3 separate regions of the Homo sapiens genome follow, and all the other regions are linked to region 1. The links are contacts of gene promoters, found by promoter capture Hi-C in blood cells and fetal thymus (Javierre and others, 2016). All regions are on one chromosome and are shown on one strand. The core of a region is centred on a gene start or on the middle of the fragment in contact, and the rest is flanking DNA. Distances in the headings are between cores, read along the strand shown. Region 1 holds the start of LINC03033 (long intergenic non-protein coding RNA 3033). Region 2 overlaps SYT16 (synaptotagmin 16). Region 3 overlaps SYT16 (synaptotagmin 16).

Region 1 (2,792 bases), core at 270-2,769:
AGATTGAAGGGGCTTTTCCCCAATGTAGACCTGTGCTCTGTGTGCTAGGAGGCCGAGGTTCCAGTCCAGGCTCGGCTTCTGACTCCCTACTTTAGGAGGAATCACTGAATTGACTGCAGCTCGGCTTCTGCTCTGTAAAATGGGGCTGTTGCTAGCTGAGCCTCTTCTGCCTCTGGTAGAAAATGATTCCAAGTGGCTGCCCTGTCCACCCTAATCCCATGGCCCGAACTTGATGTCTGCTGCTTCTAGAAGCCTAGTGCTCCAAATATCTGCTCTGGGAGGGACTTGCAGATGATCCTGATTGGAAATGAGGCTGATTAACCTTTTGTGTATCATTGACTCTAGGACAATCTGTTGAAACCTAGGGGCTCTTACCCTAGACAAATTAACACACCAGCCAGATACAGCTTACAAGGGCAGAGAGTTGCTGGTTTGAACCACAGACCCCTGGTTTAACATCTGTAATCTAGTCAACCCCTCCTCTTTCTTGAAGGCTGAACCAAACACGAAGGGTTTTCCCCACCTTCCAATCCTCATACATGCAGACACCCCCTTTTCCTGCTTTCTCCTTCAGTCATCTTCCTCACCATCCCCCATGCTTGGGCACTCTCAGGAGGGAAATTGTCCTATAAATATCTGTAAAAGGCATGGTATGTCCTGTAGCAGAGAAAGCAAAAAATAAAAATATAATTCCTCCACCCCTGGCATGGCACGTGCAGAGCTCTGCCTGATCCTTCTCTCCCACAAGCCTCGGGGGTGGGTAAACAAAAGTGAGAGGTGAAGCTGCTGCAGCGAAGTACCCCTTCAAAATCTTCAGTACCCTTCAGAGCCAGCGCTGTCATCACTATCACATAAACTGTACAACTCCAACGTCAACCAGCAGCCGCCTGGCTGGCAGCAGGAAGAGCCAATGCAATTTTGCACAGTGGCTTGCTTGCCCAAGGTATTGCCTGGCAAATGGGCTTCTTGTGCAATGGGGAACCACAGGGAGGGGCCTCTTAAATGTACCTCAAAGAAACAGCTCTAACAATGGATGATTCAACAGGCTAGTAATTGGCGCTCACTCTTACCACATTGTTTTGATAAAACGACATAGCCCAACTGGGGATATGAAGGCAGTAAGTAGAAAAGCTAACCTCTTGCTACTCAAATTGTGGCTGAGAACCAGCGACATCCCATCACCAGAAGCTTTATAGAAAAGCCAGGCTCTGTCCCAGACCTATTGAAAGGAGATCTGCATTTTAACATGATTGCGAGAGGATCCACATCTTAAAGTTTCAGAGGCCTAATCCAAAGTCTTCTGATAATGATCATTAGAGTCCCAGCCACCCCCGACTTCCCCCTGGGAAAACCACAACAAATAGAACAAATTCCTCCAAGCTCTGCTCATAAGAAGAACCCACAACCCACAGACACCCCCTCACTCAACTAGAGACCTCACCCACCTGTTTGCAGAGTCACCCACCTTGGGCTACTTCTTTTCTACTATTTAATCTTCTGGGAAAACAGAGGTCTTCTATTTGGAGATAAAAATGACAAAGGAGAACCTCCTGAACAGCATCCAGTTTGCTTTTAGCTTTAGCCATCTCTCTGACCTCAGTGCTGCTGGACTCAGTTCCAAGATCTAACTGTCAAATGCTTTAGGGGAAACGGGAAGAGAAGTCCCTGGAGTAACCCATGTGCGCAGCCTGGCACTGTTTTCACTTGCCTTTGGAAATGAAGGTGCAGAAACCATGGGAGGTAAGGAGGGCACAGACTAGTGACTTCCAGTGTGGGACAGAGGGGAAAAGATGGAAGAGAAGTGCAGAAAACCACTCGGGAAAAGACAGGCTGGAGTGATGCCTGCTGAGACAGGGCCCTGATCTCCCAGGACTTCCCTTTCTGCCTGTTCTGTAGAAATGTCTCGGGTTTTGTGGTTTAGGAAAAGAGATGCTTAGCAAGCTTGTAGAAAATGTAATGTGGGCACTTTGTTGCTGTCCTGGCTTTTAAAGGACTCTGAAGCAGATCAGCTTCAAGGTATTGGCTATTCTGTTTGCAGCCTTAGAAAGACATCCTTGATGTTTTATTGTTCTGCCTTTGCTAAGAGCTGGAAACTCTCCCTGGGGAAATGGCTCACCTTGAAAGAGATGCTATCGTAGCTGAAAATGTTTTAGCTTCACTTCCAATCTCTGGTTCCTTGTGGGAAGTAACTGCTGCTGTGGTATATATGCCCTGTGCCTTTTATTTTTACCATCTTTACCTCGGTGGACACAGCTGGTTGAAACTCAGTAAAACTTATGCTTCCATGGAGATTGATTCAGACAACAGGAAAAATAAGTGTAGAAAAAAACTGCACAGTACAAGGGCTAGATTCAGGTTGTAGAACAAAGTGATTATTACTTAGAATCCTGGATTAGCAAGAGAATAAGAAAGATGCTGAGATTACCTAGTGTTATCACCATCCACGTGAAACGTAGAATAAAACTTTTTCCCCACCACATAGATATTGGGCAGTTTATTATAGATGCTACAAAGGGATTTATTATATTTTTCCCAAAATGGTTAATTAGAGGCATCCCAAATTACAACTCCTTTAGCATAACTCCCAGCTCCATGCAGCCTACTTACTAAGGACCCAGCTACTGACAGCTCAGCTCTTTGCCAATCCAACTTTTTTTCCCCATATGCTCAAACTTTTCTTCTCCAAGAAGACTTCCTGAATGATCCCAATTCATAGGGATCTCATCCTTAATGCAGGGGAAATTCACTGTTCTGGAGTAGTCTACCATACCATCACGCTCTTCTTTTTGTGT
Region 2 (2,932 bases), core at 409-2,908, 520 kb after region 1:
CTATAAACACACTACAGTTTATACTGGGTCCACCTAGCTTTATAATATATAAGGAAGGAAGCCATTAATGACCAATGAATTGGGCTTAGCTCAGGAATGCAAGAATGATTTAATATTAGCAAAATCTGCTAGTGTAATTTACCATATTAACTGGCTTACGAGAAAGCCTTATGATAATCTCAGTAGATGCAAATAGAAGCTTTTGATTAAAAAATAAAATTTTTGAAAAAATTACGATTATCTCAATAGATGCAAAAAGTTGCTTTTGGCAAAATGCACTCTTCATTACTGACAAAAATCTTAGCAGATGTGTAATAGAAGATGTATTAATATAGACTAGGCTGTGATGTAATGATTAAACCCTGCTGACTCAGGGGCTTCACACAGCAAAAGCTTATTTCTCCTTTGCATTACAGTCCAAAGTAGTTATGTGACTGTTCTCTAAGCTGTAACTCAGACATACAGGCACTCCCCGTTTACTGAGGTGATGATATTCAAAATGTGACCTCCATTGTTGGCATGGAAAGGGAAGAGACAGCATGGGAGATTTATTGCTTGGGTGGGAGTGGTTGAATATAACCATGATTGAAGGTGACATTTATCACTTCTCATATTCCATTTTTCAGAACTCAGTCACATGGCTCAGATAATTCAATTCTGGTGTAAAGACCACACTGTTAATTTGATATTTGACCTGAATTAAATGTCACATTATTCACCTGAGAAAGTTTACTGGGCCTTTGTGGCTCAAAGCCTTTTAAAATCTCTTTCTTCAGAGATCCGGAATCAATCAACTCTTCCAGCCAGGGCTGAATTTCTGTATTTTCTCTTTTTTCTTGCATACTGGTCAGTTCTTTCCCAAGCTTAACTTTTCCCCTCTTCCCCCTAAATGCAGCCAGTAGTACTGAATACATACTTCTAACATTCCATTTTTCAATTTCTTTTTTTAGAGCAACAAACTCATTAGGCACATGTTCTTTATTCTAAGTTATAGCAGGTGGAAGTGTTACCATCTCATAATATGGATTATGGATCTTCGCTGTTATATCCTCTGATATTAGTTTATTCATTACCTGATACCCAACTTCTAGACCAATCCCCAATCTTATTTTATTTTATTTTTATGATAGCAACGTTCCAGTTCAGGTTAGTAATTACTGTATCAGTCACATATTTTCAGGAAAATAGCAAATATTCTAGGTATGTTTGATCAGAAGTTATTATGGGATTTAAACATTGGAAGACAAGGTAGTAAAGATCAGGAAGACTGTTTTCAGGAAGTTCAGGAGTATAAGGCATTACAGGAGAGATGTCAATAGGCTCTGAACTGTTTGCACACAGGACAGGCGATTTTTTTATAGGGATCTTTGATCAATATGGGCAAAATTTTTCCATTCTCATCTAATGATCACTATGGGCAAAAATTTTCCATTGTCATCTTCTAATGCCTACTCATGCCTGCAACCGGTTCTAGAGTACTGGGGCTCTCTCTCCTTCCACTTTCCTGTCTCTTGCCATAGCTTTCTTTAGTGGAACCTTACTGATAAGAGACTAGGGGAATGTCATTTTAAGGGTTTATATCTTTCACCCAGGAAAGATCTTAGAATGGTGGATATCGTAGTAAATATCAATAACTAATAATGTGGCACAGAAAGAAACTTGCTCAACTTGACAGTGGATATTTTAAGGAAATCTATACCAATTCTTAATCCTCAAATCCCTTTATAGTCAAGAGCAAAATAAGGATTCCCACCAGTAGTTTTGTTTAATATTAGACTGGAAACTTGAGGCAGTTAAGTATAATAAGAAAAATAAATAAACATTTAAAGATTGAAAGGAAGAAATGAAGCTGCCATTCATTATTTGTAGAAAATCTTATTATCAACATTAAAGATAAATGAAAATCTATAAAGTAATATTTCTTATATAAAATCAGTTGTGTTATAATACATCAGCAACAATCAGAAAGTGGAGCTTTAAAATGTTACTATTTATAATAGGAACAAAATATCTACGATACCAAAAAATAATAAAAGATGAATATGAAAATTATAGAAAAACAACAGAACTTTATGAAAGACACAAACAGAAACTATATACACACACACACAAACACACACATATCTATATATACTATGTTCATTAGCAAGAATATTCCATATTGTAAAAACAACAGTTTTTTTTCCACATTATATGTCCAGTACAATACCAAGTAGAATCCCAAGTGTTTCTTAGTATTTTTGTTTTAGTTTGTTTTTTTATCTTGTTTTGTTTTTTACAGAGCTTGGCAAACTCATTCTAAAATTCATATGCAAGAGCCAATTAAACCAAGCAAGAGAGTAGAATAACTAAAATAGCTTTTAAAAAGATGGTAGAGGGATTATCCCTAGCAGATATCAAGACATGTTATAAAATGATTATAATAAATATTGTCAGACTTAGGGAAAGACACTGAAGCTTGGAAACTTGATATTTGACAGACATGGTATTAGAAATTAGTGGGGAGATAATGGATTATTTAATGAATAATCCTTCCCATATACAAAATTTAGATCCCTACCTCACACCACATGCAAAGCTCAATTACAGCTGTATTAAAGATCAAGTGTGAAAAACAAGATCTTAAGATTCAGAAGATAATATGGGAGACTATTGAGTTTGGGTAGGGTTTCTTTTAAAAAGCATCAACTTAAAAGAAGACACCAATAAACCTGACTCCACAAAAATTTAAAACATTTGTACTGCAACTGACTATAAATGAAGCTGAAAGGCAGGTAGAAGGTAGTAGCAATTAATACAACTGGCAAAGATTTTGTGTCTAGAATTTGTAAAGAGCACAGTCATTCACTTCTAGGTATATCCTAGAGAAATTTTTGAATATTGATATAATGCAAAATAGAGAAAAACGTTCACTGAAATCTTTTTAATTTTT
Region 3 (3,091 bases), core at 191-2,690, 540 kb after region 1:
ATCATTCCAATTTTGTAAAACTGCTGCTACTGGTTTTATCAATAAAGTTTTAGCAGATGGCTTATATGTACATGTGTGAAAATTTTTTATGTTAAAAAAAGATACAGTTTTGCAGCATCAACATGCAAATTTTATGGGCCTGAATGATACTGCTTATTTTAGTATATACAAAAACCATTAACTTCAAAACCATACCAACTGCAGACATATATTTTAGAACTATAAGCATTACATGTATGATCCATACAGTTTATTTGGTTTCAGGGTGCTGTAGGCTTTTATGGTGAACACATATACAAATCAACATATACCAGTTCAAATGCTGACTTGAAGAACATCAGGTAAGGAGCTATATAAATGTAAGGATCACCTGAATTAATTAAATTGCATCTAAAGGGGATTCTGAGAAGGCAAACTGCAAAGTGTAGGTGTTCATGTACAAAAGTGTATGTAATTCCTCATTAGAGAAGCTCTTGTCCAGAACACTTTCCCCTCTATGAATACCCAGTTCTCAAAAGTTAACAAGGCTCAGATGCAACAAGCTAGAAGTAGAGGGAGCTGAGTTATTATATTCGGACACCTACATAGCACTCAAAACATGGCTGACTTCCCCCAAACAGAAAAGCATAGAGAAATACAATTCTATAGATGTTTCAGTGACAATTTTTAACAATTTTACAATTCTGTATTAGTTGAGGTAATGTTACCTGTTGTAATAACCCAAAATGTCAGTTGACTCACATAAGAAAGGTTTATTTCTCCCTCATCTGGGATGTTTTTGGCCATTCAGTTTTCTTTCTAGCAGTATCTCAGGGATTGAGGCTCCTTTTGTGATTTGGCCTTTCAGAGTCCTTATGGACTTTGAAGGAATGTATTGCCATGCAAATGGAGGAAGAAAAGCCATGAGGGTCAAATGATGTGTTTTAGGGGACAGGCTTAGAGGTGCTGCTCTTCACTTCTGCCCAAACTCCGTTGGCCAGAACTAGTCCAATGGGTCCACCTATATTTAAGAAGGCTGGGAATTGTAGTTTATTTATATGCCCGAGAAAATGAAACAGTATTGGTAAGACTCTTGTTAAGTCAGTTAAGTTATGGCATACTTACATTTTTAAAAAAATTATTTGAAATGTTGTGGTACTGGTGACTATTTATGAAAAGCTTATTGGTTGCTTAAGTTCTTTCTAACCCATGACAGCACTAGAACACTATGGGCTGATTAAGGGTTCTACTTGTACTTTTACATCCATAGTCACCTTAGACTTAGACCATTTCAACACTTGAAGGAGCATTGTTGCAAATAAAGACTATTTGAGTTCACATTTCCAAAGCCACAGGGCAAAGAGTTTTGAGCTAGTAGGCTGAGCAAGATTGACCATTTCTACATGTGTATGTGCACTAGTAGGTACATACATATATGGCATACTGAAAACATTAAAGCAAATATATGAGCAAAAGAAGAATAATGCAGAAGAAACATTTTTCCATATATGAATCTTAGAGTATGTCATCTGGAGAGCTTAAACTTGGCAAATGATTGCTATCTTGTGGCATTGCTTCAACACAGGCTTACCCATGCTGAAATGTTAAAATAATTGAGACAGCCATCTATGACTCTGGTTCTTTGGTTCTTTTTTTTTTTTTTGTCTTTTGTAGTAATTAAAAAATTGTGCTGTGTAGCATTTTATTGATAAGTCAAATAAGTCAAATCACATTATATGTATTGTAAGCTTCATAGTCTCCTTACAGTTTCTCTGGGGTTGCTCCAGAAAGATTCAGAAATATGGCTCAAGGGGAAGCTTGGGTGACATTTCACAGTGCTGATAAATTTTAATGTGCATTCCACTACATAATAAAACATCTGATTCTTTTCAGTAAACAGATAAGAAGTAGGAGACAGGATTGGCATTATATCTATGGTCATGTCGAGGAGGGACAAGATTGAGTGGTGAGAAGATTAGAATTTGGATAGATTCTAAGGTAGGTAGTATGGAATTTTAATATGTATTTTAAAATCCAAAATTGTTTAGTGAAAGATTCTAATCTTACAAGGAGAATTGCAGAATTTATCCAATTATATATGCAGACATAAATAACACAGTCGAGATTAAAATCATACCTGTTTTCTAATTCCAGTTATGCCATCAAGGAATCCTGTGATCTTGGATTACCTTGACCTTTCTTTCGTGTCTTCCAACATCTGTTATATCTTGAGGTAGTCCCAGAGGAGGAGGGGACTTGGCAATTATTTGTTGATTTAAACTGACAATAGTAAAGATTTCCTAGTCCATTCAGATAAAGTATAACACTAGACATACCATCCATACTGGTCAAATTACCTAGCTGCTCCCAAATACATTTTTTTCTCCATAAGATATAGCGTGTTGTTATGGAGGCTGCTTTTACCTGAGGTAGAGGAGTATTTTAAGGAAAAATGAAACCGTTCATCTCGGAGGTCTCACAACCACTTTAGAGGGTGTGGAAAGACAAGAATTAGGAAAATATATAAATGACTTTAGGTGAGTATTTCCCAATGCTATTAAAATGCAGGTAGTGACCTTTATAAGATGTTTTGAAAAGGAAAAAAAAAAGTCACTTTATAAACACAATGTCTCATTAAGGGAAGAAAACTATTTTCTGTATAACAGGCTTTCCCCCAGCTCCCTTCTTCTGCTTGAGTAACTGTAAAGACAGCAACTAGTGGCTGCCTTCAAGGTTAGTGTAAGTTCATGAACTGATAGCTACGTAGCTAAGGTGAAAACAGGGACCTCAAACCAGGCAGGGTGGATTCATCTATTCCCAGGCGTTCTTGGTTACCTTTGATGTACCAGGCACTGTGTGCTAGACAGTTGGGACACAGTGTTAACCAGGTGAACTAGCTTAAAATCTGGTGTAATGAATATTGTGAAATAGGATTGGTAGGGTGAATTGGGAACATAATTAGGGGGCTAATGTAGTCGGTGGGAGGCTGTCAGGGGAAGCTGCTATGAGGAAGTGGTATTTAAGCTGAGACGTGAAAGCTGAGTAGGAGTAAGCCAGGTAAAAGGGAGGCACATTAAGAAAGAAGAAACAGCATGTACAAAATACCTTAGGC

The links. The method cuts DNA at HindIII sites, captures the fragments that hold promoters and counts their contacts. A CHiCAGO score of 5 or more calls a contact.
Region 2: a contact is called between a fragment that was not itself captured here and the fragment with the promoter of LINC03033 in region 1, in 1 of 17 cell types (naive B cells). The highest score is 5.3, in naive B cells.
Region 3: a fragment that was not itself captured here is called in contact with the fragment with the promoter of LINC03033 in region 1 in 1 of 17 cell types (naive B cells); the score reaches 5.4 in naive B cells.

Annotation. Positions count from the first base shown.
Region 1 is chr14:61,569,021-61,571,812 of GRCh38, forward strand. LINC03033 (long intergenic non-protein coding RNA 3033) reads left to right here and starts at 1,520. Exons shown (of 3, transcript NR_039985.1): 1 at 1,520-1,740. It overlaps LINC01303 (long intergenic non-protein coding RNA 1303), which reads right to left and starts at 1,633. Exons shown (of 5, transcript NR_110416.1): 1 at 1,466-1,633; 2 at 524-657. RefSeq lists an enhancer at 1-226 and a silencer at 618-810. The HindIII fragment of the contact is 753 bases long and covers 1,187-1,939 here.
Region 2 is chr14:62,093,499-62,096,430 of GRCh38, forward strand. All of the region lies in intron 7 of SYT16 (synaptotagmin 16), which reads left to right. Among named protein-coding and RNA genes, the nearest start is that of LINC00644, 45 kb to the right of the region's middle. The HindIII fragment of the contact is 1,594 bases long and covers 862-2,455 here.
Region 3 is chr14:62,112,485-62,115,575 of GRCh38, forward strand. SYT16 (synaptotagmin 16) reads left to right here. Exons shown (of 8, transcript NM_001367656.1): 8 at 1-66. Among named protein-coding and RNA genes, the nearest start is that of LINC00644, 26 kb to the right of the region's middle. The HindIII fragment of the contact is 569 bases long and covers 1,157-1,725 here.